2 separate regions of the Homo sapiens genome follow, and region 2 is linked to region 1. Evidence: promoter capture Hi-C in human tissues and cell types (Jung and others, 2019). All regions are on one chromosome and are shown on one strand. Each heading gives the region's core, a stretch centred on a gene start or on the middle of the fragment in contact. The rest is flanking DNA. Distances are from core to core; before and after follow the strand shown. Region 1 holds the start of PRAME (PRAME nuclear receptor transcriptional regulator). Region 2 has its middle 20 kb from the start of GGTLC2.

Region 1 (6,977 bases), core at 3,011-5,510:
CCCTTCAACTCCAGGTTTATTTTAGGTGGTCATAGAAAAATACATACTTTTCTCTCTCAGTTCTCTATCTCATCCGTGCAAAGGTTAGTCCCGACTCAGCCTCTCTCACTTCCAGGAGCAGAGCAGAACAGACTGTCAAATGCGTCCCCGTCCCTTGCTTCCCTCATTGCAGTCTTAAAGTATCTCTTGTCATCACTCTAATTCAGCACAGGTTGACTCTCACTTTCCAAAATGAAGATACCTCTATTTTCATTGCCGATCAAGGAAAAAAAAATCATATGTTTATGAACTGAGTGTTTGCGTCCCCCCACCACAAATTCATATGTTGAAGCCCTAATCCCCATTGTGGCTGTATATGGAGATGGGGCCTCTAAGGAAGTAATTAAGATTAAGTGAAGTCACAAGGGTCGGGTTCTCATAACTTTCAGCATCCTTATAAGAAGAAGCACCCATGCTCTCTCTCCACACATGCGCACAAAGGGGTCACGTGAGCACAACGCAAAATGGCCTCAGCCTATAAGCTAAGAGAAGATGCCTCAGAATGACACCCACCTTGCTGACACCTTGATCTTGGACTTCCCAGCCTCCAGAACTGTGAGAAATAAATTTTTGTTGTTTAATCCATCCAGTCTGTGATATTTTGTTATGGCAGCTGAAGCAGTCTAATAAATGATAAAAAAAAAAAGTTCAAGAGAATACAGAAAAGTATTTTATAACAAACAGTGTTATCATTTTAGTGACCATTTTCTGTACATGTTAGCCCACTTATCTAAGACATTCACAAATATGAATTACTGATATCCCAGGAACCTTGTAACTCCTACTCCCCATTTCAGGCCTAGCAGAGCCCCAGGAATATGGCATCCGATTGTAAAGAACTCGAAGCAATGAATGAGTGACTGTTATGGTCATACACAATTTTACATGAATAGAATTACATTAGACAATCATTCACGTGATCTGCATTTTTTTTTCAAATATTGCAGACAGACATCATCAGTCATAAAAAAGAAGGGAATCTTGCCATTTGCAACAATACGAATGAACCTGGAGGAAATTATGTTAAGTGAAATAAGCCAGATGCAGAAAGACAAATACTGTACGAGCTAATAATATGTGGAATCTAAAAAGTGGAACTCTTTTGACATGGTTTGGTAATATAACAAATACAAAAAAAATTAAAGGAAAGGGAAAAAAGAAACACAAAAAGTGGAACTCATAGAGGCAGAGTAGAATGGTAGTTCCCAGGGGCTGTGGGTGGGAGGAATGAGAGATGTTGGTCAAAGGCTACAAAATTTTAGTTATAAGATGGTAAATCCTGAGACTCTAATATACAGCATAGTAACTATAGTTAATAATGCTATATTATTAATTGAAATTTGCTAACAGAGCACACACACATTGACTGCTGGGGTGAAAGATGTGTTAACTAATTTGATTAATCATCAAACAAGGTATATGTGGATCAATGTATATGAATTGTACACCTTGAATCCATACAATTTTTATTTGTCAATTATACCTCAAGAAACCTGGAAAAAAATCAAACATTACAGACATCTTATTGTATTTTCTGTGTCTTATCCAAAAAAAGCACCCGGAGCTCAGCAAAGCACTTGATGTTTGCCCTCACACTGTTCCTCTCCCATTCCAGTTGTCGACCAAAAGGAACCATCAGACAAAAAACACCTCCAAATTTGTTGAATTTATTCAGGAATTAGAATACAAAATTATACGCTGGGCATGGTGGCTCATGCCTGTAATCCCAGCACTTTGGGAAGTCGAGTTGGGAGCAACACTTGAGGCCTGGAGTTCAAGCCCAGCCTGGGAAACACAGTGAGACTCTCTCTACCAAAAAAAAAAAATTTTTAATAAAGTAAATACATAAATTAGCTGGGCATGGTGGTGCATGCCTGTTGTCTTAGCTACTCAGGAGGCTGAGGTGGGAGGACTGCTTGAGCCCGAGAGTTGGAGGCAGTGGTGAACTACGATTATGCACTACACTCCAGCCTGGGTGACAAAGCAAGACCCTGTCTCAAAAAATAAATAAATATAAAAATAAATATAAATTTACAAAAAAAAATTAAAAAAGAGAAAAAGCATTATAACCTAAGATGCTCAGCTATGGCAAGCCATATATGCATCTCAAGAGGGGAGGGCAAAGGGAAGGTTGTATTGGCAAAAAAAGAGATTTAAATAAGCTGCTTGCAAACAGTTCACCGGTTATGAAGACTCAAAACCACAGTTGGCATCAGTTCATTGGTGGAGACGCTGTGCCTAGGCAGGTGTTCTTTCAAAAGCATCTTATCTAAATTGTTGTGATTCCAAAACAGGAATGTCTTGCAGGGCTATTTCGAAAAGTCCCGAGACAGCCAACCCTTTTTAAAAATATAGATGGGGTCTTGCTATATCACTCAGGCTAGTCTTCAATTCCTGGCCTCAGGGGATCCTCCAACCTTGGCCTCCCAAAGTGCTGGGATTACAGGGGTGAGCCACCACACCCAGCTTCCTGAGACAGCTTTTATCTCAGCCATGTAAGCATGAGCCCTTCCCTTTCATACCCTCAGGGTTTTACTTTGGGTCAACAAATAGTGAGTTTATTTTGGTATGTGCAACTTTCAAACACCCATCGCCATAAAAGAAAGGACCAGCCTTGGCCAGGCACAGTGGCTGATGCCTGCAATCCCAGCACTTTGGGAGGCCGAGGTGGGCGGATCATGAGGTCAGGAGATCAAGACCATCCTGGCTAACACGGTGAAACCCTGTCTCTATTAAAAACAAAAAAATTAGCCAGGCATGGTAGCGGGCACCTGTAGTCCCAGCTACTTGGGAGGCTGAGGCGAGAGAATGGCATGAACCCGGGAGGCGGAGCTTGCAGTGAGCCGAGATCGCGCCACTGCACTCCAGCCTGGGCAAGAGCGAGACTCCGTCTCAAAAAAAAAAATAAATAAATAAAGGACCAGCCTCGACTGACAGTCGGCACTCCGCAGGCATCCTCCACAATCCTCTCTCCTCTCTGCCTCTTGCCCTACAACCTGGCCATGCCATGATTCCTCCCTACCTGTCCTCCTCTGTGGACTTCATGACCACGCTCTGTCCTATGAGGCTGGACCAGGGTCATGTTCACTCACTTCTCTCCCCTCCCTGCCATTTGTTCCACTCCCCAACTTGTTCTCCACGCATCGATCTCAATGGAGCAACAGCAATCAGATGATGAAAATAAATAATGGTGGCCAGTCTTCAAATGGATCCCCTTTTCAATCCCGCACTATCCATCTGCTGCCTTCTCATCAGCCCTCTGCCCCAGTTTCTTTCCCTTCTCAAACTGGACAAGCACCGTACTCCGTGAAGATGTGTGCAGCCTGTTCCCATGCCCTGAACACCATCCCTTCAAGCTCCTCTGGCTGCTCCCTGCTCAGGTCTCAGAAAAGGAGAGCTGGGCAACCCTCCCAGGGAGCCGCCCGCCTGTGTAACTTTCAGTACCAGCCTGTTTGCTTTCTTGAGATAATTAGCTACAACGGCCACTTTAAAACAATGGTCTTCTTATTTTGTTTTTTGTTTTCACCCTAAACTTTATAAAGTCAGAAATCGTAAGTCCTTGAGCATCCACAGCCACTCAAGGACGAACCTTTGCTGAATGCCTCAAGCAGAGAGGGGGAGGCTGAGTCTCTGTTTCGAAGGTGAAAACACAACGGTTTTTATCAGCCCTGTTTTATGCGACAATCCCAGGTCGAATCTGGATCAATGCAATGACTTCCTTTGCATGGACCTATGTTTTGTTCGTGCATTCATCTGTGCAGCTGGGAACCCGCAGCTCTGTTCACTGGCATGGGGATGCCTCGGGGAATGGCAGGGCAGAGCCACAAAAAGCCAGCCTCACCACGCGGCCTGTTGCTCTTAGCCACCATGCCCATCATAGCCTGTGGCAGGAGATGTTGGGGTCCCCCCCCCCGACCCCTTTCAGGAAAACAGAGTTTGTGGAGGCGGAGTACTTCCCAGGCCTGACTGATAAAACAATTCAAAAGACTCAAAGAGATTCCTCGCCTGTCCCGTCCCTTGAAGGGCCTTGAACACGGGGTCCTTCCGCTTGGCTCCTAGCCCGTCCCTCTCCCCTTACCAGGAAAGGATCCTCCCCATCTCTGCAGAAGCCTGACCATCCCCCTAGAGGGCCTGGGAGGAAGTGGGTTTTGCATACAGTCCCTGTTGACTCTAGTGCCCCCTGCTGGCCCCAGACGCGAGTTCCGGCGAGGCTTCAGGGTACAGCTCCCCCGCAGCCAGAAGCCGGGCCTGCAGCGCCTCAGCACCGCTCCGGGACACCCCACCCGCTTCCCAGGCGTGACCTGTCAACAGGTCTGTATTGGCGACAAAAGGAGCAGCCCTGAATGTAGGGAAAGCAGGGCGGAGTCCTCTGCAGGCTCGGGGGAGGGGAGGGGCGTGAATGCGTGGATTTCTGTGGAGAGTGGAAACACGGGGAGTCGAGGGGAGCATGCGCGGGCCTCAGAAAGTTCTGGGAAACCGACTCCCGGGAGCAGGGAGGAACGCGCGCTCCAGAGAGTAAGTTAATTGAATCCCGGGGGGTGGTCTCTTCAGCCCGGGGGGTTACAGAAGTAGGTAAATCCAGAGATTACCCAGCCAAGGCCAGGGGCATCTTTTCTAGACTTGCGGGGCGGGGTGGGGCGAGAACTTGAGCTCAGGGGACCCTGGAACCGGCCCCTGCACCCCGCATCCCACTGAAGAAAAGGGAGGTCGCCAGAAGCACAGACCCAGGACAGAGTCCAGACTTGGACGTCTCCGTGATCCCAGAACACCCCGTCCCACACTCCCAGTCAGCCCCCCGCCTCCCCACTGCCTCTCCATTCGCCCACCGCACCCCCTTTTTCCACCCTGCCCCCACCCTACTGTCTGGTGGGAAAGGCCGCAGCCATCACGTATTCACCCATCCCCACCCCTCACCCCCCACCTTCTGACTTTCTTTCCACATCCCCACCCCCTCCCCCACTCTCTGCCTCTTTTCCCTCCCCCTCCCCAACCCTTTGTTTTTCTTACACATCCCCACCCCTCCCCCAACCTCTGTCTTCTCTCATCCCCACCCCCACCCTGTTTCCCTTCCCCCATTCCCGCCCTGGCCCGCCTTCTGTCTCCCTTCCCCCATCCCCACCCCTCCCCCCCTTCTGTCTCCCTTCCCCCATCCCCACCCCTCCCCCGCCTTGTCTACCTTCCGCCATCCTCACCCCTCCCCCACCCTGTCTCCCTTCCCCCACCCCACCCCTCCCCCACCCTCTGTCTCCGTTCCTAATCCCCACGCCTCCACCACTCTTTGTTTCCCTTCCCCCATCCCGACCCCCCACCCCACCCTGTGTTCCTTCCTCCATCCCCCCCCACTGTCTTTCTTCTCGGTTCCCCACCCTGTCTCCCTTCCCGCATGCCCACCCCTCCCCCACCCTGTCTCCCTTCCCCCATGCCCACCCCTCCCCCACCCTGTCTCCCTTTCCCCATGCCCACCCCTCCCCCACCCTGTCTTCCTTCCCCCATGCCCACCCCTCCCCCACCCTGTCTTCCTTCCCCCATTCCTAACCCTCCTCCCGCCCCCCCTTCCCCACCCCCATCTCCCCTCCTTCCCCACCCCCATCTCCTCCCCACCCCCAGCCTCCTCTGCTCTCCAACTTCCTCTCCCCTTTTCCCCTCCTCCTGCTCCCTTCTCCTCTGCTCCTCCCCCCACTGCCCCTCCCCCACTGCCCCTCCTCCTCCCAGTCTTTGAAAACAAGCCCCTCTCGACTCTCTGGGCGACCTCACTGGATCTCGTGAGATTTTGCCCTGGAAGGACTGAGAAACGGGGATTGGTCAGACCAGGCTGCCCAGCCCCCCGGTCCCCACCGCCGCCCCCCCCGCCCCACGCAGCGGCTAGGGCGCTTAGCTGAGCCATTGTCTCGTTCTTTCCTTCCAGCAACTTCGCGGTGTGGTGAACTCTCTGAGGAAAAACGTAAGTTCGAGCCCTGATTCCTCCGCTTCCCCGCAGGGTGACCTTGGGCTTGTGCCCCCAGCACCACCCCTGTCCCGGGTCCCTGTTTTCTCTCTGGAAATGGGTTGAAGACCAAAGAAAATAATGTGCGCCACTTGGGTCACCCCGGGCCGCCTGCCCCGGAAAATTGGCCCCAGTTGAGGAGTTGTGGCTGTAAGGATGCCTTGAACCGAGGCGGCGGTGCTCGTGGTTGGAGCTCTCCAGGGTGGGTGCGCATTTGTAATGCGGTGGATGCTCTGGGACTCGGCCCCTCTGAAGGTGCTGGGGGTTGGGGACGGCCCAGGCAGTGGCGTAGGCGTCCTAGGAAGGCGGGAGCAGAGGCAGAAATGTCGCTGCAAGACCGTAGTCAGGGTCCTTGACCACAGGGGTCACTTGTGACCAACCACATGGTCTGTTGTTCCTCCTGCCCCCTGGTTCAGCCCAGGAAACACTGGTGCTCAGGTTTGGAGCCAGAGATTTGCACTGAAAGGGCGGGATTGAGTCGCCAGTTGTCAGTTTCCTCAGCAGTATTTGCGGAGGTTTTCACAGGAGGCCGTTGCTTCGTAAATATTATACATGTATTCTTCTTTTTGGAGCATTTTGATTATTACTCTCAGACGTGCGTGGCAACAAGTGACTGAGACCTAGAAATCCAAGCGTTGGAGGTCCTGAGGCCAGCCTAAGTCGCTTCAAAATGGAACGAAGGCGTTTGTGGGTAAGAAGGTCCCCTGAGCTGTCTGAGGTGCTCAGAGAAGCCCTGTTCCCCTCTGTCCTTGTCACTCGAGCCAGATGGGAGCTGCATCCTGAGGTCCCTCACAGTAGACGAAGAGGCAGGAGCCGCTTTTATTGTTTCTGGTCATTTCCACAAAAGAGCATTTCACTTCCCGTGCTGTCTTTGTATGAGAGTCAACCCTAGGGTCGGGCACGGTGGCTCATGCCTGTAATCCCAGCACTTTGGGAGGCTGAGGCGGGCGGATCA
Region 2 (6,977 bases), core at 1,629-4,128, 110 kb before region 1:
TGTTTGGCGTTTATGCAAATTTACATCCTCTGCGACTCCTCCTGGAGAGATGTCACTCAAACCAGCTGTGAGGGCAGCACAGGCAACAGGAGGAAGAAGCAGGGTCTCAGATTAGAAAATCAGCTGCAGCCTTCAAGCCCTGTGATCACAGTCACCTTTCTGGGAATTAATCTCATGACCACTGTCCCAAACCTCGCTGACCTGGGGTCTGTCCTGGGCCAGGCTCAGCAGAGCTGTGGACCTTCCAGGAGGTTGGCCATGGGCTGAGCTGGGCTCTGCGGAGAGATCTTGCTGACACCTGACTCAGCAGCAGGTGGCCCAGGGACCCATGATCTTCCTCCCCCTGGTCCCTCAGACTCAGTCCCCTCTTGTTCATTTCATCTAAATGCTGTGCTGTGTCATTGGGACACTTGCTGATTATTCAGTGGGAATAGTTGGGTCATTTAAGCAACCACACACCCCTGTGGAGTCAACAGGGCCTCTGGTCTCATTTCAGCCATGGTGCTGCTCCTGCTACATCACCCCTCATTGCCACAAGAGATTAGCAATTGGCACCCTCAGCTCGTCTGTTATTTATGTATGTTTTTCTCATCAATGTTTTATGTAAACTTGCAAAAAGCAGGAGAAAACCACACTGGACTGAAAATCTAACTTCAGGCCCCATGGTCTCTGAAGGGGTCCCAGGGTCATGGTCTCTGCACAGCATGTGAGCTCCAGAGGGTGGGTGGTCCCTGGTTGCCCCAGCCAGGTTCCTGGTCACTCCAGTCAGATCCCTGGTCAGTGTCCTGTCACTGAGTGTGGACAGCCCCATGGTCAGAGCTGAGGCAGGTGAGAAGCCCTGTCCCTCTGAAGAGTGTCTCCTTAAGGATGCTGGGGATGCCCCATGAAGGGATCAGGATCCCAAATGCTTCACCCCACCCACCCGAGACTCCCCTGAGCACAGGAGTTTCCCCCTGAGTCAGAGTCCGCCTGGAGCTGGAAGGTGAGGCAGAAGGAAGTGAGGTATGGTGTATCTGGAAGTGCCCAGGACAGAGGGCTCAGCTCCCCAGGTTGCTGCTGGACTGAGAGGGACAAGGCCCTGAGAGTGGCAGGAGGCTCAGACAGCCATCCTGGGTGAAGAACCCGGGCCCTGGGAGCCCCGTCACCTCACGCTGTGCCCCCTCCTAGAGCACCTCAACCTTGGGATGTCTCCAAAGAAATCCCCTTCCTGAGTAAGCTGCCCCAGTTGACACCTGGTCCCAGCCTCCTCCAGCTGCATTTCCCAGGTGAGGCCTTCACTGTGCCGGGCTTCTGTCAGTGTCCTGGGGTGACACTGTATGAGTCTGACCCTCAGAGAATGGTCACTGCAGCCTGAGGGGATAGGATGAACTGCACTCACTTTCAGTCTGAAGACTGATTCTTGGACACCTGTTGAACGCCAGGCTGGCCTTCTCTTTGCCCCAGCTGGGCAGCCCCAGCCTTAATCCTGACTGCTCCTGGCTGCAGCTCTGCTGCCCCCAGCTGGTGGAGGAGACTCAGCCCAGGAGCTTTTTTCTTCCACGTGCCTCCACAGCACCTGTCACCTCAGAAGTTGAGGACCAGACAGTCCAGCCCCATTCTGTGCAGGGTGACCCAATCTGCCCTGCCCAGCCCAGCACAGAGAGTTCGCACACGCAGGGTAGGAAGTTGGGGCTATAGAAGTGTCTCAGGGTTGAAATGCCCTCCTCTAGTGGTTTTGTTCAGTCCGGACTAATTAGAGTGAGTCAACTGAAGCTCTTCTGCAAAGCTTTCAAAGTCCAGAGAGATGCATGTGCCATCCTACAGGGACCCAGGCTTTCTATGTACTTAGGCATCAAACTGGTGCACCTCCCACCCAATAAGAGCAGCTGTGATTCACTGTGATTTCCTGATGTTCCAGGCACTGCAGCTTAGTTGTGAGCTAACATCACCATCATCGGCACCATGAAAACATGAAATTATGTTTATCTTTATTTTATTCAACACCTCTCAGAGTTTGTACGGAGAGGATTTCTACACTAGCCTAGTCTGCCTTCCTGATGAAGCTGGGAATCTCCTGCTTATTCTCAGCTAGGGACCGCTGTTCCCACCATACAGAAAGCAAGCTCTTTTGAGCCCCTGTCTTGGAATCCCTGCAGAGAAAAGACAAGAAGTTCCACGTCTGAAACCCACTGAAGCCCATTAAATGACATCCCCTCAGCAGGCTTTAATTTACATGACTTTCATTGTTTTTCTGTCTTTTAATTTTGAATGAAGAAAAGAGCTTCCTCAGTTCAGTATAAGCCTCCTCACTTCACAGCAGGTAACACTGAGGCCAAAAGAGACTAAGTGGCTCAGGAGAACAGAGAGCAGTGGGGGCAAGTCCAGGAGCTGATCCAGGTGTCCTGAGTTCTGAACCTGGGCCCTTTCTGGTGGAGATTAACCAGGGTGGGGAAGGAGGGGGCATGAGGGTCAGGCAGGCAGCAGGGCTGTGTCCTGTGGACACACTGCCATCCCCCATCATGGCCTGCCCATCCTGAGAAGCCCATTTCAGCCTGCAGAAAGTGGGGGCTGTACCACAGGCTAGAGCTGGAGAATCTGTGGGGACTGGGGCCTGCTTTGGATGCAGGGCCTGGCCTGGCTCCTGCTGGTTCTCTCTGCACTGTTGCCTGCTCCACTGTCTCCTGAGCAGGTGGGGGACAGGTGTCTTATGGCTAACAGGTGTCTCATGACCCCACACCTTAGGTTAAAGAGATGTTGGGGCTCATTCTCAGGATCCCATCTCCTGAAGCATCACCTGGGCTGAGCTCAGGGTCAGGAATAGGCTTAGGGTCCTGTGGGGGCTTAGCCTGGGGCAGTGTCTGTGGAAAGAGTGAGGAGAGGTAGCAGGTGATGGACCAAGGCCGGGGAGAAACATCCAGGAGCTTTGTCTCTGGAACCCATAGCTGAGCCTGGCTCCCCTCATATTCCCAAAAGTTCCCACGAAAATGCTCCCTTCATCGCGCTGGACTGCAGAGAACTTGGCAGGCTTCAGTGTAGGCTTCGTGGATTTGGTTCATATGGAATTATTCTTCTTCTCATATCTCACATGGAAGTGACTGTCACTGCTTATTTGAACAATCTTGAAGGAAAGACAGGAATCCCAACAGCCCTGGTGTCAGGACACAAGTCAGGAATCTCAGGAGGGTTTTGGTCTTACTTCCTCATCACTTGGGATGTGTGGGACAGCAATAGTGATCAGTGTCACTGCTGGGATCCCAGGGAGTCTCAAAGAAGCTCACTGGCCAGACTTGGAGCCTGAGAATCAATCTTATGTCCACTGTGGAAAATGTTGCTGCTTGTATATGAACTGCAGTAATAATCAGCCTCGTCCTCAGCCTGGAGCCCAGAGATGGTCATGGAGGCCATGTTGCCAGAGCTGGGAGCCAGAGAAGTGATCAGAGACTCCAGAGAGCCTATAACTGACTTCATAAATCATGTGCCTGGGTGCTGCTGGCACCAGGAGACATAGTTATAATGCCCAACGTCACTGCTGGTTCCAGTGCAGGAGATGGTGACCGACTGTCCAGGAGACCCGGGTACTGAGTGAGGCTGAGTCAGGGCAGACTGAGCCCGAGAGCCCGGAAAAAGGAAAAAACACACTCTAGTGAGTCAGTGCTGGGCCCAGGTGAGCCTGAGGAGCAGGAGACTAAGAATCAGCCCAGAGGTCCCTGAGGCCCCTTTCCTGGAGGCATCACCTGTGCCCTGAGTGAGGAGGGTGAGGAGGAGCAGAGCCCAGGCCATGGTGGAGACGTCCCGAGAGCGCTGCCTCCTGAGACTCAAGCACTGGGTATGCCCCCAGCCCTGTCTTATCCGCTCTGCCTCAGAGGAGGGCGGGGCATCCATGAAAATCTGTGTCCTGGCTCCTCTCCTCATCCCACTCTCACCTGGGCCTGGGCTCAGAGACTTCTTCCCTGGACAGTGGGGCTCAGCTGAGGAGATTAAAGTCCTTGTTTGTCTATTCTGATGGTAGGAACTTGATCTCTTTGTACCAGGAGAGAAAGATCTGCTGAAGTCCCTCACCTGAGTGAGCTCCTGGCCCTCAGTGTCTCTGCTGTGTGGTGCCTGTGTCTCTGTGACCCTCCAGGCCTGGGCCACCCCACAGATACCACTGCCTGGCACCTACCTTTAGGCTCGCTCTACTGTCAGGAAATGAGGCTGCTCACCCCGTGGAAACCCCTGCTGTGTGTGGTTGATCCTTGGTCTCCCCAGCTGCAGCCTTGTCCCATTCCCACCCCCACCCTTGGTGCTGAGGCATCTGCAGCATCGAATCCCTGGAGCACATCAGCCACCCCAGGCGATGCACCCACATCCACACAGGGCACATGTTGTGGGGAGCCCTGTGGAGGGAACACAGAGCACTGACCGGAGCCACTCTGCACACAGGTGATCCATGGAGACATGGCCAGGGGGAAGGGAAAGTTTGCTAACAGGCATTTCTGTGTGCACCAGAGTGATATTTATTGTGAATGACTTATTGAAAGATTTAAGTCCATTTTACTTTGATTTATTTGTTGAGTCACAGTGGTACATACTTCCTTCTTTCTTGATTTTCCCCATCTCAGCACATCCATGGGGCACCATAAAGCTGATCTCTCTCAACCCTGCAACACTGAAGACACATAGACATTCTATAAGTTTGTTTTTGTTTTTTTTCTCAAAAAGCTTTTATCTTTTTTACCTTTTCCCATTGCCTATTACAAAACTCTTTTAATGTTCCATATTAAAATAAATATTAATGGATTTGGGTTCCATTTAAATATTATAACATACACTGTCCTGTCTTCCCACCCAGATTCATCTCTGAAACCACAACAAGTGCGTGGAGCAGCTATTTGAGCACCAGGAAAGGAAATTGTACGCAGTGGTTTGGGATGGCCCCAGCAGATGAAATACAACAGTCAGTGTGAGACTCCTATTTTTTCTCGGTGTCCCCTGGCAGGATTCCAGACAGCCCCAAATCTGAAGGGGCACAAACTTGAAAACAAAAAGAAGTCCAGAAATCCCTCTTGTTCAGGATTGAGGATAGGAAAGGAAACTTCTTCGGCTCAAAGTGAAGGCTCAGTCCCCTACTCCACACCCCTGTTCTCATCTCTCTTGCACCAGTGCCTCTCCCTGGGTTCACACTGATATCCTATGGATGGAGATGATATTTCCTGCACCAGGTCACTCCACAGCCCCTGTTAACCTGAAGAGGTGCAGACCAGCACTGTTCAATCACAGTATGATGAGCCTAATGGGAATCCCACTAGGCTAGTCTAGTCACCACATTAGACATATAAAGAGAAGAAGGTAAATGACTTCAAATAATATATTTTATTTACCTAGCATATCAAAAATAGTGCCATTTTCATATGTAATCTAAGTATGATTGTCATGCAATATTTTAGATACTTTTTCACAGCTATTATTACTATTTTTTGAAGAATCTTTATGTGGAGATTATGTGGCTGATGGAGATGTGGATGGGTTTCCTGTTCACAGGATGAGATGTAGTGGCTTTTTAAGTGACAACTTTGATAGGCTGAAGAAGGGGTGAAAACAATGATTTTTTTGCACAGGATATACAGATTGGAGGTGGGCAGTGTCCATCCTGCAGCTCACCCTCTGGGTGCATCTGTGGTCCCTGCATGGGGCGAGGCTGCTCCTGCTGCCCCTGGATTCCTGCAGGAGGATCTGACTCCAACTCTCCCTCAGAACCCAGAGCATCTGGCATGTCAGTCTCCCTTTTCATTTCACACAAATGAAAAAAAAAACCACTCAGGTCTCGCTGGGCATTTGCAGACTCGCAGTGGTAATTTAAGAGTAAACTGATGCTTTCTAGTGTACAGTGGCCTCTTCAGCTCCCTCATGGCCCGTGTTGGGGATGGCTGGTGATCTTAGTTTGGGTTCCCTGGAAACAGACTCTGAGATGGAGAATATCATACACAGATGATTAAGAAAGTGATGGAGGCAACACCAGGCAGAAGGAGGCCCTGACACATATTGAGGCTTCAGTCAGCCCTACAAGGAGCTATGGATCTTGGAGGATTTTCAGGTCCTGTTATACTGAGGAAGAGTCTTGAGACCTTGGCCACAGGCAGTCATGAAACCAAACCTCCCTGAGAAGAGACATAAACCTGGGGGAGGCAGATTTCTGCACCGAACAGCTCTGAGCTGCCAGAAGCTCCCAGGAGTGCTGTGTGGGTGAGCTCATAAGAGGGGATCTGGGAGGATCCCACAGTGTCCACTCCACTAGTTTTTCTGTAGAGAATGACAGGAGCCTCAGCTGGGCAGTTCTGGGGACTGATTCAGGACATTTCGGCCAAGGACTGGCCTATCACCACCTATGGAAATCCAGAGATAACTGAGGATATTGACCTTGGTCTGCTTGGAAGATCTAATTTCCCTGAATCACAGTGGAGTCCACAAAACCCCAATACATCCTGGTCACCTCAGCCCTAAATCCATTCTGGATGCCCCCTCTGCACAGCCTGCCTGGAGGGCTGAAGGAAGTAAAGACTGGGGGTCTCAGATCCAGGTGAACTGGGTCATGCATGCTCATGGCTTTGTCCACAGTGTTGCCGGGCTGGAGGACGACAGCAGCACAGATGGGGAAGGGGTCTGTGTCTTACTTCCTTGTCTGCCTCTGTCACTGTGTGCAGTGCCACTGCCCCACACCTGAGAGGAAAGCCTCGTCCCCAGCCTGGGCTCCACTGATGGTCAGGGTGACCATGTTCCCCGAGTTGGAGCTGGAGAATCACTTAGAGATCCCTGAAGGCCATCTGCTATCCCCATAGATGACCTGCACAAGGGCCTGGCCTGGTTTCTGCTGGTACCATTAAGCAGGTTTAATTCCAATATTATTTCCCCTACAGGTGATCCTGGGTGTCTGTCCTGGGGCCACTGACACTGAGGGTGGCTGTGTCAGCACATATGAGGCCACAGAGCCTGCAAGGAGAGAAAAGAGGAGCGAAAAGGCC

The links. The method cuts DNA at HindIII sites, captures the fragments that hold promoters and counts their contacts. A contact is called where the count stands out against the background at its distance.
Region 2: a contact is called between a fragment that was not itself captured here and the fragment with the promoter of PRAME in region 1, in 2 of the 25 tissues and cell types used here (H1 embryonic stem cells and dorsolateral prefrontal cortex).

The regions. Positions count from the first base shown.
Region 1 is chr22:22,556,548-22,563,524 of GRCh38, reverse strand. PRAME (PRAME nuclear receptor transcriptional regulator) reads left to right here and starts at 4,260. Exons shown (of 6, transcript NM_206956.3): 1 at 4,260-4,554; 2 at 5,945-5,980; 3 at 6,616-6,713. The coding sequence starts at 6,693. LL22NC03-63E9.3 (a long non-coding RNA gene) reads right to left here and starts at 4,182. Exons shown (of 3, transcript NR_027426.2): 1 at 4,118-4,182; 2 at 553-662. It also overlaps IGL. RefSeq lists an enhancer at 4,049-4,343. The HindIII fragment of the contact is 17,569 bases long and covers 1-6,977 here.
Region 2 is chr22:22,661,255-22,668,231 of GRCh38, reverse strand. It overlaps IGL, the pseudogene IGLV3-29 and the pseudogene IGLV2-28. Among named protein-coding and RNA genes, the nearest start is that of GGTLC2, 20 kb to the right of the region's middle. RefSeq lists a silencer at 1,188-1,367. The HindIII fragment of the contact is 6,688 bases long and covers 1-6,222 here.